3 separate regions of the Homo sapiens genome follow, and regions 2 and 3 are each linked to region 1. Evidence: promoter capture Hi-C in human tissues and cell types (Jung and others, 2019). All regions are on one chromosome and are shown on one strand. Each heading gives the region's core, a stretch centred on a gene start or on the middle of the fragment in contact. The rest is flanking DNA. Distances are from core to core; before and after follow the strand shown.

Region 1 (4,854 bases), core at 1,592-4,091:
CTTTCTACTATCATTCTAATTCTTTCTACCTATAATTCTAATTCTCTCCAAGAGGCTTTGCAAATAGACCGTTCTGACCACAGTCTCTCACTCAGATGCTAGCCCAACTGAAGGCTGGTTCACCTGAGGGATACCTCCTGGGCAGCTGGGCTCTTTCAAATGCAGGATCTTCCCTGTATTAGCTTAAATCCCCTAAAATCACGAAACAATTTCGTGAAACTGGCATATTTCTCGAAGCAGAGGAGAAAATAAAACCACCCTAAATCTTACCAAATATAATTAACTTTAAAACTCATCAGACAAGCGACAACTTTCCATATGGCTGGGCTTGAGTGGAATTCGAATCCCAGGGAAAAACATCTCCACAATTTCCTGTAACCCTCAAGAGAGAAGCAGCAAGTCTAGGAAAACAAAAGCAAGAACGATGAAGAAAGAGGCACAAGAAGCATAGTCAAAAAGAAGAGAAGGCCCCTGATGGATCTGGATTCCACATTCTAGAATGACTGCCCCAGGACAGACCAGAAGCTGGGAAAAGCCTAAATAAAGAGCCTCCAAACTCAAAGCAGCCAGGCATAGCCAAGGTGCCCCCCGTCCCTGTGGAGTCAGGCCCAGGTAGCCACACCGTGAGCTTCCCCCTAAACAAGCAACTGCAAAGCCGTTCCCAGGCCCCAGGGAGGGCCTGTCCCCAGACACAGGGAAACCCAGCCAAGGGAACTCCCAGCAAGGTAAGGAAATGGGCGGAGAGAAAGCTGGCAGGTGAGGTGGCTGGAACAAACTGGTCTCATCAGGGAGGCCTGTGACAAACCCGCCTATTCCTCCGCTTTCCCCGCTGTATATTTTGGATTTCACAGTTTATTTACTTTACTTTTTGGCACCGAGCCCCCTGAGCATGCCAATACAATATTTGTTTAAACACTATTTTATGCTGCTTGCGAGGGAAACGTTTACTTTCAAATTCTCCTACATCCCCCAGAGCCTCGTCTGCAAACAGCCTATGAGCGTTTTACAACTGCTCCCTTTATCTGAAGCTGTCGGGATTAAACCTTCACACGCCCGGCAAGAGCGGCGGAGAGGGGGCCCGGGACACCGCTGCGGCCACCGAGCTGCAAAGCCCGTGCCAGAGGTCGCGCACCGAGCGGGATGCCCGGGCTGGGGGACAGAGGGACGCCTACAAGACTCCCAGGGCGCGGGACCAGACAGTAGGGACAGGTCTACTTTTCCAGCTGGGATCAACTCTAGGAGCCACAGAACAATTACACAAAAGAGAAGGTAGTGGAAAGAGGCACCCTCGGGGGGGCTCGAGGTCCCCGAGAGCCTCAGCGACCGATCACCCAGGGTGAGGCGCACGGGCTCCATCCCCAGCTCCCCGCGCGGTAAAAGTCGGGTTTCCTAGGAAATGACAGCAGTTACCGCCGGGCTGAAAAGGCGCCGAGCTGGGTGGACTCCCAGCTCTCCAGCGCGGCGGGCGCGCTCACACTCACACACGCAAGCACACGCTCCCTCCCAGCTCCCCGCCCCCGCCCCGTCCGGGGAAAAGACTCCCCTCTCTAAACCCTTAATAGGATTGGCGCCCAACTCTCTCCGCGCCTCTCCCCATCCATCACATACAGATCAAGTTGCAGTAGTGGATTTTTCAAATTCCTCAGCAAATATACTTGTTGAGAGATTGTCGGGGGTGGGGAGAGACGATGAGTAGGGGGGCAGGGATGAAAGTGAGGTGGAAGGGGGAACCGGAGGACCCGGCAAAGGATTACGTGCGGATCCCTTTGGGAAGTCAAGCGGATCTCAGGGCCGAGGGCAGGAGAGGAGGAGAAGAGAGGCAAAGAGGGGGGGCCGAGGAGGAGAGCCCAGCAGAGGGGGAGGGGGCGGCCGGGCCGGGCGAGGGGGAGGAAGGATTGAGGAAGGAAGAAAGAAAGGCAGGGCTCCGGGACGCGCAGCGCGGAGAAGTGGAGTTCGAAGTTCTCAAGTGGCTGGCTGCAGCCCCTCCGCGCTCAGTACGCCCGCAGACACGCTCCCATGCCCACCTACGGCAGCTTCGGAGCATCCCAGCCTCCGATCCCACCCTCCACCCCCTGAAAAAACAGACCCCCGCCGGCGCGCGGAGGCCGGCTCGCTGTGCACCCCGAGAAGAGTGGTGCTCTCCCCCAGGTAGGGAGAGGGTGCAACATCGACCTCTGGCCACGAGCTCCAAGCCCCAGGACTCTCCTTACGTCCCCGCCCTGCTCGTCCAGAGCCCCAGGCGGGGTCGCGCCTACTAGCCTCTAGTCCCCCGAAGCCCAGGGCCCCGATCCCAAGGCCTAGGCGCCGGTACCCGGCCGAGGGACCCCCCGAGACGGCGCAGCATCCCAGTCGGCCCGCGCTTGGCCGAGGTGGGAGGCGCTTCGTCACGAAAAGCAAGCAAAAGAAGGCCAATGCAACTTTACCGAGAGAGACAAAAGTTTGCCTCTAGCACGCAGGTGGCCTCTCGGGCGCCGGGCGGTGGCTGTGGGCCCCCATCCCACCTTGGCTGGCGCGGCGACCCTCGGCTGGCTGCCTTGTGCCGGGGCTCCAGCCAGCCGGGGCGGGGCGGGCCAGGCAAGAGAGGGGACCGAGAGGCGGGCGGGCGCCGCGCAGCCCCTACCGCCGGCGAGCAGGCGGCTCCCCGAGGCTGCGGCGCGCCGCGCGGCCCAAGCTCTTTCCTCCGGCTCCTCCTGCGGCTCCTGGCCTTCCTCCGCGTTCGCAGTCGCAGCCGCCGCCGCCGCCCGCTCCTCCTCGAAGTCTCATTGATGGGAGTTTGAAAAAAAGTCCGCGGAGCCGTGCTGCCTCGGCTGGCAAGCGCCGGCACTTCTGCAATCCATCAGCGCCGCCGGACTGCGCAGCGCCCCCGCGCGCACGGTGCGGGCACACCCGGGCCCCAAGAACCCGCCAGCCAGCCCGCCCGCTCCCTGCCGGGGGACGCAGGGGGACCCGAACGCCGCCGGGGCGGGGGGAGGGGAAAGGGGGAGCACAGGGACTCTCCCCACCCAGCACCAAGGAAAGAAAACGCACCTACAAGGAAAGTTCGAGAAAGGAACCAAAGGACGCGCCAATCTCCGACACTTTTTTTAGACGACTAGGTGTGGGGGGGGGGGTTGGGGGTGTCGCTAACTCAAGTCAGATGAGCTCCGGAGCTGAGGGGCAAGGGCTGCTCTGTTTTCAATCTCTGAAATCCCCCCGCCCTCCCCACCTCCCACTTCCCTCCTCGGGGAGATGCCTGGGTCGCTGTTCCCAGGGCGCCCGCTTCTCTGGACGCCCGCGCGGAAGCCGGGGACGCCAGAGAAGGGACGCGGGGGCTGGGTCCACGCGGACCCTCTTCCCGCGGGCAGCGAGCGCAGGTGCCGGGGGTCCTGAGGCGTCCCCCGCCGCCGCTAGCCCTCGTCGCCATCTGAGCACACGCTGGCGAGAAACGAAGCAGCCTTCTAGGTTTGGTGCATGTGGCTTGCAGGGTGGGTTTTTGTTTTGTTGTGTTGTGTGTTTTAGAGACTCCACTCGAGCCGCTGAAGCCAGATGGAAGTAATCAGAACCCAACAACAACAGAGAAAGAAGGAAGAAAAAACTCCTCATTGAATTTTCTAGCCAAAGTGTATATGGGGCTGTGTGTGAAAGAACTTGCTTAAGCAAGCTCAGTGAGGAGCCCTGGGCCCTCAAGCCACACCACAGCCCGGAACTGGGCCGCCAGGCTTGGAGGAGAATTGGGGGCAGCTGGCTAAAGTGTCCTCCCCACACCCCCGGGCCTGCCACCCTCTCCAGGGCCCCTGGGCCTCACCCGAAGAGGGTCTTGGGGGGAATTTCTGGTTTTATTCTTCCTAACGTTTGTAGAACACTCTACCAAGTGCCAGGTGATGTTATATTTTCTTTGTATTATTGGACTTTCACAGCTCTGTAAGGAAGGTTCTCTTCTCGTGTTTTTACAGGTGGGAAGTCTGATGCTTTAAAAAGTTAAGTAACTAGTCTAAGGTCAGAGCACTCTGCCATCCTCCCAGAGCTTCGGGTGGTTGTACTGTAAGTTCAGTTAAATTTGCCCTGTTGGGCCGGGCGCGGTGGCTCACGCTTGTAATCCTAGCACTTTGGGAGGCCGAGGCACGGGGATCACCTGAGGTCAGGAGTTCAAGACCAGCCTGGCCAACATGGTGAAACCCCGTCTCTACTAAAAATACAAAAAATTAGCCAGGGATAGTAGCGCGCGCCTGTAATCCCGGCTACTTGGGAGACTGAGGCTGGAGAATCTCTCAAACCCCTTGGGAGATGGAGGTTGCAGTGAGCCATGATGGCGCCACTGCACTCCAGCCTGGGTGATGGAGCGAGACTCTGTCTCAAAAAAATAAATTAATTAAATTAAATTTTTAAAAAATTGCCCTGTTGAGGTGGGTGGAAGTGTCTCTCCCTTCAGCCCCTGTTCCTAAAATTGCATTTTATTTGAAATGCAAGGGACCCAATGCTACCCTCCCTGAGGGGATGTGACCTACACAGGCCCATTTCACCGGTGCAACCCTTTTTGTGGGTGGCTCTCTCCATATACCTTTTATCCTCTGCTAACTTTATTCTTTTACTTTTTAATCAAAGAGGATGCATTAGAACTTCATTCCTTAAGATCCTCCTTCCTCCTCCTGACATTCACTTATATGATGGAGCAACAATTTCTTCTTGACCTAGAGAAAAAAATATGCAGAAAAATATTAGAACAATTTGATGCTAATTTTGTTTGGGGGGAAAAGGTCGGCAGCATTTTTAAAAAGCGAAACTTGCATAAGCCAATGATTTAAAGAGAAGTTTGAAAGGGGCTTTTTCTTTAAAGATGATCAGATTCACCATTCCTCCGTGCTATTTGTTTAAATT
Region 2 (4,854 bases), core at 893-3,392, 51 kb before region 1:
GCCTCCGATAAGAGTTGATGAGTATCAGGAGGACTTTTTCCCTCTGGGAAGCTGTGGGTAAGACCTACTTTGAGGTTGACATTTGAGACGGCCTCAAGACTTCGTTTGTTTCCACTGGGATTTACTCCCTGAAAGCCAGCAGGCCCTCTCCAATCCCCATGCCTTCCTGCCAGGAACATTCTTCCCTCTGCTCTACCGAGGATGCCATGCTTTAAAATCCAGAAAGCTTGCTCTCACACCCTCCTTCCCAGAGTCCTAGACAGAGCTCACCAACCTCTTTGTGCTGTGACTGAACTTTGACACCACCTGTGCACACGTCAGTGGTTGTCACATTCAGCTGGAGGCCAGTGAGTGCAGACTCTGGAGAAGGAATGGCCATGTTCACCTCCCAGCTCTGTCAGGAACTGTCGACAAGAATCAACTTCTCCCTAAGCCTCAGTTTCCTCATCTGTTAAGTGGGGATAAACAGAATGTCTCACATGGGGCCTGGCACACACAGGCCTGGCCTTATCATCCCTGCAGCTGGAGAAGGCCTGCCCCTGAGCAGTGCCTGGAGGCTGCCCCACCAACAGAAGGCTCTGTCCAAGAATTGACACGACAGTCCCATCCAGGCATCCTCCTCCACCCACCCTGGTGCCAGCGCCTCTACAGTCTGACATCTAAACTCTCGGGTTGGCATCTGTTTGTAATGTGCTTGTTCCACTCGGTTCTAAATTCCTATTGTCCATCACCTTCCTCCCTGGAGAGCCCTGAAGCCTAGAGGTCCAGGGTCTCTCCCTGACACCACTCCCCCAGCACCGCTGACCCAGCAGAGGGTTGGGACGTGCTCTGAGGCCGCTGTCTGCAAGGGGAACAAGGGGCCCACTGTGTGGCCGGCCCGCCAGACCCAGATATTTTAACAGCTGCTTTGTGTATTCCTGAAGCGCGATTCCTGAGTGTGGAGGAAAAACAAGGCTGGCCTCTGCCCTGAGGAGGGAAAATCACACTGCCCCGGGCAGGCTGAGGGCTGGGGTGAAGGCCTCTCAGGGGCCCAGGGTGGCAGCAGACATCAGAAACAGACCCCAGTAGCCTGGCACACGGGAGCCACAGGCACCCAGACCCATGCCAAGGCCCCCTTAATCCAAGACTGAGAAGGCAGGGAGTTGGGGGTGGGGGCAAGGACCAAGGGCCACTGAGGGTGGAAAATCCTTGCAGGAGACTCTGAGAGGGGACGAAGGACCATGAAGGCAGTGAGTGCGCACAGGACAAGGTCCAAGTCGCTGTCATGGCCCCAAGGCCCTGCCTCAGGATCTGCACCCCCAGGTTCCCTGCCCCACCCCCATTCCACCGCAGTCATGCTGTCTGTGACTCTGATCACGCGGTTCCTCTGCCTGGAATGCTAGTTCCCCAATACCCACTATGACACCCCCTCAGAGAAGCCTCCCTGGGACCACCCCCTGCCAGGCCAGGCAGGGGTCTGTCTTGCCTGTGTGCCTGCCAAGGTCAAGGCTCCTATCTCATTGTGTTTTAACTACATGTTTACGTGTCCGTGTCCCTTTATGGCCACCCTCGACACAGACACCATCAATGTTTGTTGACTGACTCAGAGACGAACTGAACACATAAATGCTCTCAGGCACTCAAGTCTTCAAGAATCCTCTTCTTCTCCGAGCATCCCCTCAGGCTTCAATGCCCCACAAAGTCCACGTGGTGAGCAGCTTCTAGACCCTGAGACCCACAGGCACCTTTAAGGGAGGGCTGGGTTGGAGAAGGCATCAGGCTATCTCTTAGGTCAGGAAAAGTGCAGTAATCGACTTCTAATGTCTGCTGCAGGAGGCACACTAGTCAACTTGTACTGTCTGCCATGGGCAGTGTTTGCCAGCACTGCATAAGAATGCCTTCCTTCCCTTACATTGTAAACCCCTTGAGAGCAAAAGATTTGCCATGCATAGTACTTAGCACTGAAGCCTATACATATTAACTGGGTACCTGCTGAGCTCTAAGCACAACCATTTTCAAGATGAATAAAAAAGTGTTTATCTCTTAAAAGCGCTTTTTGAGCACTGACACACTCAAAAGAGCTATTTTCTCAGTGGAATTGCAGGTTGGGCGGGGGGTTGGAGGGTGGGGGTGGTATTTTGGGGTCAGGGGAATGGTGCAGGTGGCCTTTCCAGGCTCTTCCAATTAGGACCCAAACAGCAGGGATGATGGCGGTGGTGGGAGATGTCTGCAGATCAAGGACAAATCTCACCTCTTCAAACAATGTGATCCAACCGACACCAAGTCTCAAAGTCTTGAGAAAGGAGCTGGGCTGACCTGGGACCCTGTCTGGTTGGCAGGACTCTGGGCAAGCTACAGGGAGAGGAGCCTCCCATTGGCCCATCACACTGCTCCTCAGAACCTGGCGATGGGCTCTGACACTCGCTGAGACCCGTCCAGGGTGGTGGGGAGAGCTGCGTTTTGATTCCTCTGAGTTTGTCCTCTTACGGATCCTGGGATTGTGAGGCTGCCTTGCCAGGAGCCACCCCAAGCCCAGACCACGTGTTTCTAACCCCTCTGTCTTCTCCCTCTTATGACAGAGTCTGGCACCCAGAAAGGCCTCCAGGGGTCATCTCATCCAGCCCCCGGGCAGCTCAGCCCCCAAGCAGTCCTTTGCCAATGATGCAGCGGGGCTGTCACTGGGCCCCTTACCTGGTTTATAACCACAGCAGTTGGTTGCAGTTAACCACATCGCTATCCCAGCCCAGACTGGCAGTGCAACTCTGGGTGTGAGATAGGCAGGCTGGACCCCCAGGGAGTACAGTGTTATGCCATGATTGGATGGAGACAGGAATTTTGACATGTGAGGGGAGCATACCAGGATCCAAGTGCATGGATCCAAGCCACCTGCAGCCACGAGCCAGCAATCTCCAAGGCCTGAGGTCACCCTCTCCATGGGTGGTGCTGGGCTTGGGGCAGGGGCAGGGCAGGGGTGGGAGTGCTGACTGCAGATCCAGGGTGGTAGCTCTGCTTCTCGAGGCTCCAGGGAGAACCGGGCTGGTGTGTGGCCCTGGCATCTCCTGGTTTGGTCTCCTGCTCCAACTTGCCCAGCTGCAGCCCTCCCCACACCTCCCAGGTGATGCCTGCACCCAGCCCTTCTGTCTGTGCCTCTGCCAGCCTCAGCCACCGGCTTTCCTCCAAGTCTGCCAGCAACCAACAGCCAGCACCACCCTGGCCAGTAGAACACCACTTTTTCCTTGCAATGAAGCCAACAGGAGTGCCCTGCCTTCAGCTGGGATCTTCATGATGAGGTAGGAGGTAGCTCACGTGCTAAGCCGGCCCTGGATAAGCCTCGCTCCTGCCTGGTCCAGTCTCTCCCAGGCCCTGGCCTTCCTCTGCATGCCCAGGAGGCCACATGCCCTCAGCCACCCTCCCTCCCTCCTGGCAGCCACCTCATCGCAGCCCAGGCCAGGTGTCTGGGACCCGGATCCAATAATGTGGTCTGCTGCAGCCTGGACATGCGCCGGCTCAAGGAGGCCAGGAGGGTTTGACCAGCTCCGTGACTTGAGACAAGCTCGACGTTCTTTATTTGGGTGGCACAGGTTTCCTGAGGGCCTACTGTGTGCCAATCTTGAGTCTCCATCCTTGACCACAGAAGTGAGGGAAACACAGTACTACCGCCCCAGAGCTTCCAGTCCAGGTGTGGGGTGGGGAGACCGGCATCAGAGGAAACAGGCCGTGCCAACCCAGAATAAGCCTCCTAGCAGGGATAAGCTCTGGGGGGCTACCAGTCTTGCTAACCTGAGGGAGTCAAGGAAGGTTTCCTGGAGGCAGGGATGAGTGAGCATTTTCAAAGGAAGAACAGTTCCGGTCCAGAAAGGCCTGCTAAAGCAGAGAGGACCACAGCAGATGGAGGCTGTGTCTGGGGGGCGAGCAGGAGGCAGGGCAAGCATGGAAGCCTGTAGCTCTGAGTCCTGGAAGTCAAGTGTCCGGCAGACTGGAAGGGTGTGCTTACCCCTCGGGACTCCCCACTGTCTGCAGAATGACATTCAAACTCCTTATCTGGGCCCCCAAAACCCCCAAGGCCTGTGCCCTCCCTGCCCCCTCAGCCTCACTTGCCACCAACTCAGGACTCGCCCTTTATGTTATTTCTAGAAGCCTGCAACCCCCAGACACTGCCTGTCAGGCCTTTGCATTCATGCCCTTCCCCTTCAAAAAACACCTGTCTGATGAACTCCTAAGAGCTAAGGCTGGGATCTCTTCCACCCAGCACACGTGTCCCAGCCCTCCTGCCCCAGGCAAGGGCCTGGTGCTCCCACATGGCCCCTTATTAGCCTGGGAGACCCACAGCACAGCACTGGGTGAAGCTTCTACAGTGTGCTTCACTGCCTGTTCCACTGGATGGCTCAGATATTTGACTTTCATTCCCAGGCCCCTGGCACACAGTTGGCATCCAGTAAGCATGCCATGAGTGAGGGCCATCAGAGTGAACCCAGTGTTCTAAAGTCAGCTGTCTCCTGGATTGCCCCCGCACACCATGTCCCCCAGTGGCTGCCACCCAGTAGACAGCTGGTAACGGGATGTTTAACTGACCCCAGAGAGCCTCACACGAAGCCGAAGCCGCAGCCTAGCTCGTCGCTGGTATCTTGGAAGGTGCCAGTCAGATCTCATTGGCTAAACAAAAATCACTCTGACTCCCCACCTGAAATTCTACCACTGGACAGTCACTTCTTTGAAGCTTGCTAGTTTTCAAGAGCAACCGATTGAAATGCAAACTGCCCTGGAATAAGATCAGACTTTAAGTGGTTTTCATATAAAAAGTTCCCTTCTCTTAAATCAACGTGGATAGTATGGAGAGGGATGGAGGGAGGAGGAGGAGGAAAGCAAGGTGCCAAA
Region 3 (4,854 bases), core at 893-3,392, 43 kb after region 1:
AGCAGGTGGGAGTGTGGGCGTGGGGGGATGCTGGAGGAACATCCTCAAACCTGACACCCTGGTACAGCCCAAGGAAGAGGGGCTGATCATGGCTTCTCTGCCCATCTGAGCCCAGTCAGCGTCAAAAGCCCTTTCCAGGCAGCCTGGAGAACACCTTCCCACCAGGATGTCTTATTAATGAAATCAATAATGAAATCATTACCGAGGACATTATCAAATGCTCCTGCCTCTTCTGGGAGCTGCTGCTTAGAAAACAGGAAGGATGGGCTTTTCCCAAAACTCATGTTGAACGGTTTCAGACATCCAGAAAAGTTGAAACAACAGGTCTATGTCACTTAGATTCTACAATTCTTAATATTTTGTCATGCTTGGTTCCTTTCCACCTTTTCCATAGATGTAACACAGATATATGTAGATACACACACACACGCATGCACACATGTTTTTATGTGTGTGGGTCAGTTTGAAAGTTGCTGACTCGGTGACATTTCACCCTCTTTAACAGACATCTCTTAAGAATAGGGATATTCTCCTCTGTAACCATGAGACCATTACTGTACTTAAGAAAGTCACCAACAGTTCAGTAATACCTAATATTGAATCCATTTTCAAATTTTCAGAGTTGTCGCCTAAATGTCTTTGATGGCTGATTTTTTTTTTTTTTTGAGCTGGGATCCGATCAAGATCACATATTACATTTGCTGGTTATGGTTTTTTGTCTTTAGTCCCTTTTAATTTAGAAGGATTTAGCTGGGCGTGGTGGCTCATGCCTGTAATCTCAGCATTTTGGGAGGCTAAAGTGGGTGGATCACCTGAGGCCAGGAGTTCGAGACCAGCCTGACCAAAATGGTGAAACCCAGTCTCTACTAAAAATACAAAAATTAGCCGGCATGGTGGTGCACACCTGTAGTCCCAGCTACTCGGGAGGCTGACACAGGAGAATCACCTGAACCTAGGAGGCGGTGGTTGCAGTGAGCCCAGATTGTGCCACTGCACTCCAACCTGGGTGATGGAGAGAGACAGTCTCAAAAAAAAAAAAAAAAAAAAAGGAAAGAAAAAAAATTAAAAGGATTCTCTAGCCTTTTTTTAAAAAAAGAAATCTTCATGTCATTGACATTTTCAGAGCATGCAGATCAATTGTTTCGCAGACATTCTCTCACTTTGACTCTGTTGGGTCTTTTTCCTTCGTGACTAGAATCAGGTTTTCTGCACAAATCCTATGTGGGGAACGTGGGGTCCTTCTTGGTGCATGGCTTCAGAGGCACATGAGGCCAGGTTGTTGGACTAACAGTGATGCTGGTGACATCCCCTGGTTAGGGTGATGTTAGGCAGATCGATGTGTCATCTCCATCAGTATTGTTTCTGATGTCCTCATGGCCCCAGCATTAGTCAGTGGAAACCCATCAGACAACTTCCTATGTCTGTTTATCCTGGCCCTGATTAGTCTTCAATAACACCCTTGTTTCTGGCACCAGACATCCAAGATTTGCCTTGTCTCTTCCAGCCCAGACCTGGAACCACCTATTTCTCCAGGGAGGCCTGGTTCTTTGAGTGGAGAAGGGTATTTAAAAATCCAAGACTGGGACCTAACTGTGCTCCTCACTAGTAGACAGAGCTGGGCAATGGGCATATTAACTCAGGAGTGGATGCCGGTGCCAGGAAGAGGGTGTGGGACCCAGGGCAGAGGCACAGTCAGAGGTGTTGGCTGAGTGTCCGAAACCAGGGTCTGAGAAGGTCTGGAGTTGCTGGGAGAGCTGATAGGTGCCACCTTTGGGATTTTTCCTGACTTCAAACTCGATGACTCCACAGAGCCTGTGGCGAGATGCCTAAGTGATTAACTTCTGAGCAGGGCTGGAAGAAAGGCTTTGGGGCGCTGTGAGGTTGAGACCTTGGTGTGGAGGGAAATGTGGGCCTGTACTGCTCAGTCAGCCTCTAAGATGGGTGGGCTGCACACAATCACCCCTTCCCGGTCAGTGCTAGAGCTGGGAGTGGGGTGGGGAGGAAGTTGAGGGCCAGTCAGAGAAGAAGGAGGGGTGAGGGGGTGCCCCACTATGGGATCCCTGCAGTTGGGAACCCCATAAAAAGGCATCAAAACAAACCTGAGGCCAGGTGCGGTGGCTCATACTTGTAATCCCAGCACTTTGGGAGGTTGAGGTGAGTGGATCACCTGAGGTCAGGAGTTTGAGACCAGCCTGGCCAATGTGGTGAAACCCCGTCTCTACCAAAAATACAAAACTTAGCCGAGCATGGTGGCACATGCGCCTGTAATCCCTGCTACTTGGGAGGCTGAGGCAGGAGAATTGCTGGAACCTGGGAGGTGGAGGTTACAGTGAGCTGAGATTGCACCACTGCACTCCAGCCTGGGCGACAGAGCGAGACTCTGTCTCAAAAAACAACAACAACGACAAACAAACAAACAACAAAAAAACCCCACAAACCCGAGCATCACCACCAGCTTCCTAGGACTCCCAAAAGCAGGGTGGGAGCCAAGAATTCTCCATGGAGGGGAAGAGGTCCCAAGCCCCCACAGATTGGGGCTCCGCTTTGATCTGTCTCAGCTGGTGGGCCCAGCGCAGCAGAAGGGCCAGCAGAGAGGAGCACGTTTACAATGAGCAGTGCACCTTGGAGGTTGTTTTGTGGCTTTGCACAGAGAGGCGTCTAAAGCTTCTTTATGACTGCAGCGTTCCATTGTGTGGATTTACCAAATGTTATCTCATTTTATCCAACCAGCACCCTATTGATGGCTATTGAGGCTGCTCCCAGAGTGTTTTGCTATTACAAACTGTATTCTGATGAATAGTCTTGTACATGGGTTTTTGTGCATTAATAAGAGTTTGTCTTGGGATACATTCCTACAAGTTGAAATGCTGATTCAAAGGCATTATTTAATTCCTCAAGCTGCCTTCCACAGAGGTTGCACCCTCCTACTACCATTGGCAACATGAGTGTCTGATTTGGAAGGCTGGCGGAGTAAACACATTGTGGTCCCTACCAACATGGCTGCTGTGGTCCCTACCAAGATGGCTGCTGTGCTCCGGGCTGGGTGAGCACACTAGATGTGCACAGAATCCATTTTTGTTACAGATCAGGTTTCAAGCACAAACGCACAGGTGCCCTTCCTGGCAGCTGCTTCCAATGGCAATGCCCCAGCAGCTGCCTGTCTCTCCTGACATGCTTAAGGGTGCAGGCCGAGGAAGGCCCAGTGGGCTGTCTGCAAGTTGAGGGAGGCACTCAAGGCAGAAGTCAAGTGCTCCTGGGTTGCAAACCTGGAATAAACTGGAATGGTTGCTAGGACAAGGAGCCTCATGCAGGCAGGGGTGGCATGTTTCCAGTGTAACCATCATGGAATATATGTAATCATAGCAGTGTAATGATAATGCTATGCAATTTTTGTCTCCCCTTGACTCCAAATCCACGCTGGGGGCCAATTCTTTGCCTAGCCCTTTGTGAATTTCAGGGCATTTCCCCATGACTTTTCTTATCACCCTTAGGTAATAAAAAGTACTCTGGTTCCCTTAAGTCATACAAGACAGACCCAGTTCTGCATAAATGTGTTCCGTTCAGTGTAATGAGTAAAACTTTCATTAATAGGCATGCTTCTCCATCCCCAGCCTGACACACTGGCCTCCTGGAGGTGGGTGGGAGTGGAGCTGCTTCTCTCCTTCCTCCAGGATCCCCTTGCCTTTGTCCGCCACCTTGTCACTCCTGTGCTCTGGGGTGAGGGTGGAGGGAGGAGAGGTGTGTGGGGCAGGGCCGGGGGGAGGGATTCTGACACGCTGATCCGATGTTGGTTGGGCACTTGGGCTGGCAGGTGGTGGAATCTGGCATTTCGGTACAGCGGCTCTCTAGCTCCAACTTCCCTTGACCATTCTAACGCTGCTCTCTGGCTCATTGCTTACAACTCTCTCCGTAGCCCCCAGGCGTCCAGCCATGTGTCTGTCTTCCCCGGGTGATGTCCTCTAGCCTCTGCAGGAGGCCTTCTGAGGCAGGAGCTATGAGGAACCCACATCAACCTCTTTCGTCCCAGTATGCTCTGAGTGCCGCGGAACTCCCCATGACAGAGCAGCCAGCAGCCTCTCTCATCCTTCCTGTTCCTCAGGTGTCACTCAGACGTCTGCCTACTGTGCCCAAACTGCAGCTCTCCAGTCGTCACCTGAACATCCCTTGTTTTTGACTTCTGGTAAAAAGAAGAGCTGCCAGCACCCCAGTGACGTTTTCCAAGGAAACCCCCGTCCCCTCCTCCCTGACCTCCACTTCCCGCTAAACCGCTTTTTGAATATGCGTTCTTTGCAAGTCCTCGTGGGGTTCTTGCACCTCACCTTTACCAGGTCATAACTCTTGTTTTGTGGCCTCAACCAAAATGGAAACCCAAATGGCTGGCAATGTCTGAAGAGGGACTGACATTTCAGATGACTGTAAGTGAAGTTCCTTGGCGTCATTTCCATCATAGCACTTACCCTGTAGTGAAATGAGCTTAGTGAGCCGCTCTCACGGACAGCCAGTCTTGTGGTCACTTAGGGTTTTTTTTCTTTTTCTTTTTTGAGACAGGGTCTCATTGTGTTGTCCAGACTTGCCTGGAACTCCTGGGCTCAAGAGATCCTCCCCCCTCAGCCTCCCATGTAGCTGGGACTACAGGTGTGCACCACCGCACCCGGCTCCTAACTCACTTATGTTTACATGACCAAAAATACACATTTGTTTGCAGGGTTTCTTAACTATCAATGTGTCCAGCTTCCAGTGGAAATTGACTTATGTTTCTGCTTTTTAAAATCTGCAGGGGGGACCTCAATTATTTCAGCTTCCTGGTACATCTCTTCCTCTTTCTGGAACTCTAGGGAGGAGCGGCTTTCTTTC

Evidence for each region. The method cuts DNA at HindIII sites, captures the fragments that hold promoters and counts their contacts. A contact is called where the count stands out against the background at its distance.
Region 2: a fragment that was not itself captured here is called in contact with the fragment with the promoter of GLI2 in region 1 in 2 of the 25 tissues and cell types used here (IMR-90 fibroblasts and mesenchymal stem cells).
Region 3: a contact is called between a fragment that was not itself captured here and the fragment with the promoter of GLI2 in region 1, in 1 of the 25 tissues and cell types used here (small bowel).

The regions. Positions count from the first base shown.
Region 1 is chr2:120,733,855-120,738,708 of GRCh38, reverse strand. It overlaps GLI2 (GLI family zinc finger 2), which reads right to left and starts at 2,841. Exons shown (of 14, transcript NM_001374353.1): 1 at 2,424-2,841. LOC124906073 (a long non-coding RNA gene) reads right to left here. Exons shown (of 3, transcript XR_007087219.1): 3 at 3,859-4,667. LOC124907881 (a long non-coding RNA gene) reads left to right here and starts at 1,048. Exons shown (of 2, transcript XR_007087221.1): 1 at 1,048-2,148. RefSeq lists enhancers at 1-229, 636-1,136, 1,137-1,637, 2,756-2,925, 3,565-4,212. The HindIII fragment of the contact is 8,822 bases long and covers 1-4,854 here.
Region 2 is chr2:120,783,710-120,788,563 of GRCh38, reverse strand. The region is part of intron 1 of GLI2 (GLI family zinc finger 2); the gene reads right to left. Among named protein-coding and RNA genes, the nearest start is that of GLI2, 50 kb to the right of the region's middle. RefSeq lists enhancers at 1-632, 1,555-2,477, 4,322-4,854 and a silencer at 2,497-2,791. The HindIII fragment of the contact is 4,739 bases long and covers 1-4,511 here.
Region 3 is chr2:120,689,856-120,694,709 of GRCh38, reverse strand. No RefSeq gene overlaps it. Among named protein-coding and RNA genes, the nearest start is that of GLI2, 44 kb to the left of the region's middle. The HindIII fragment of the contact is 6,383 bases long and covers 1-4,854 here.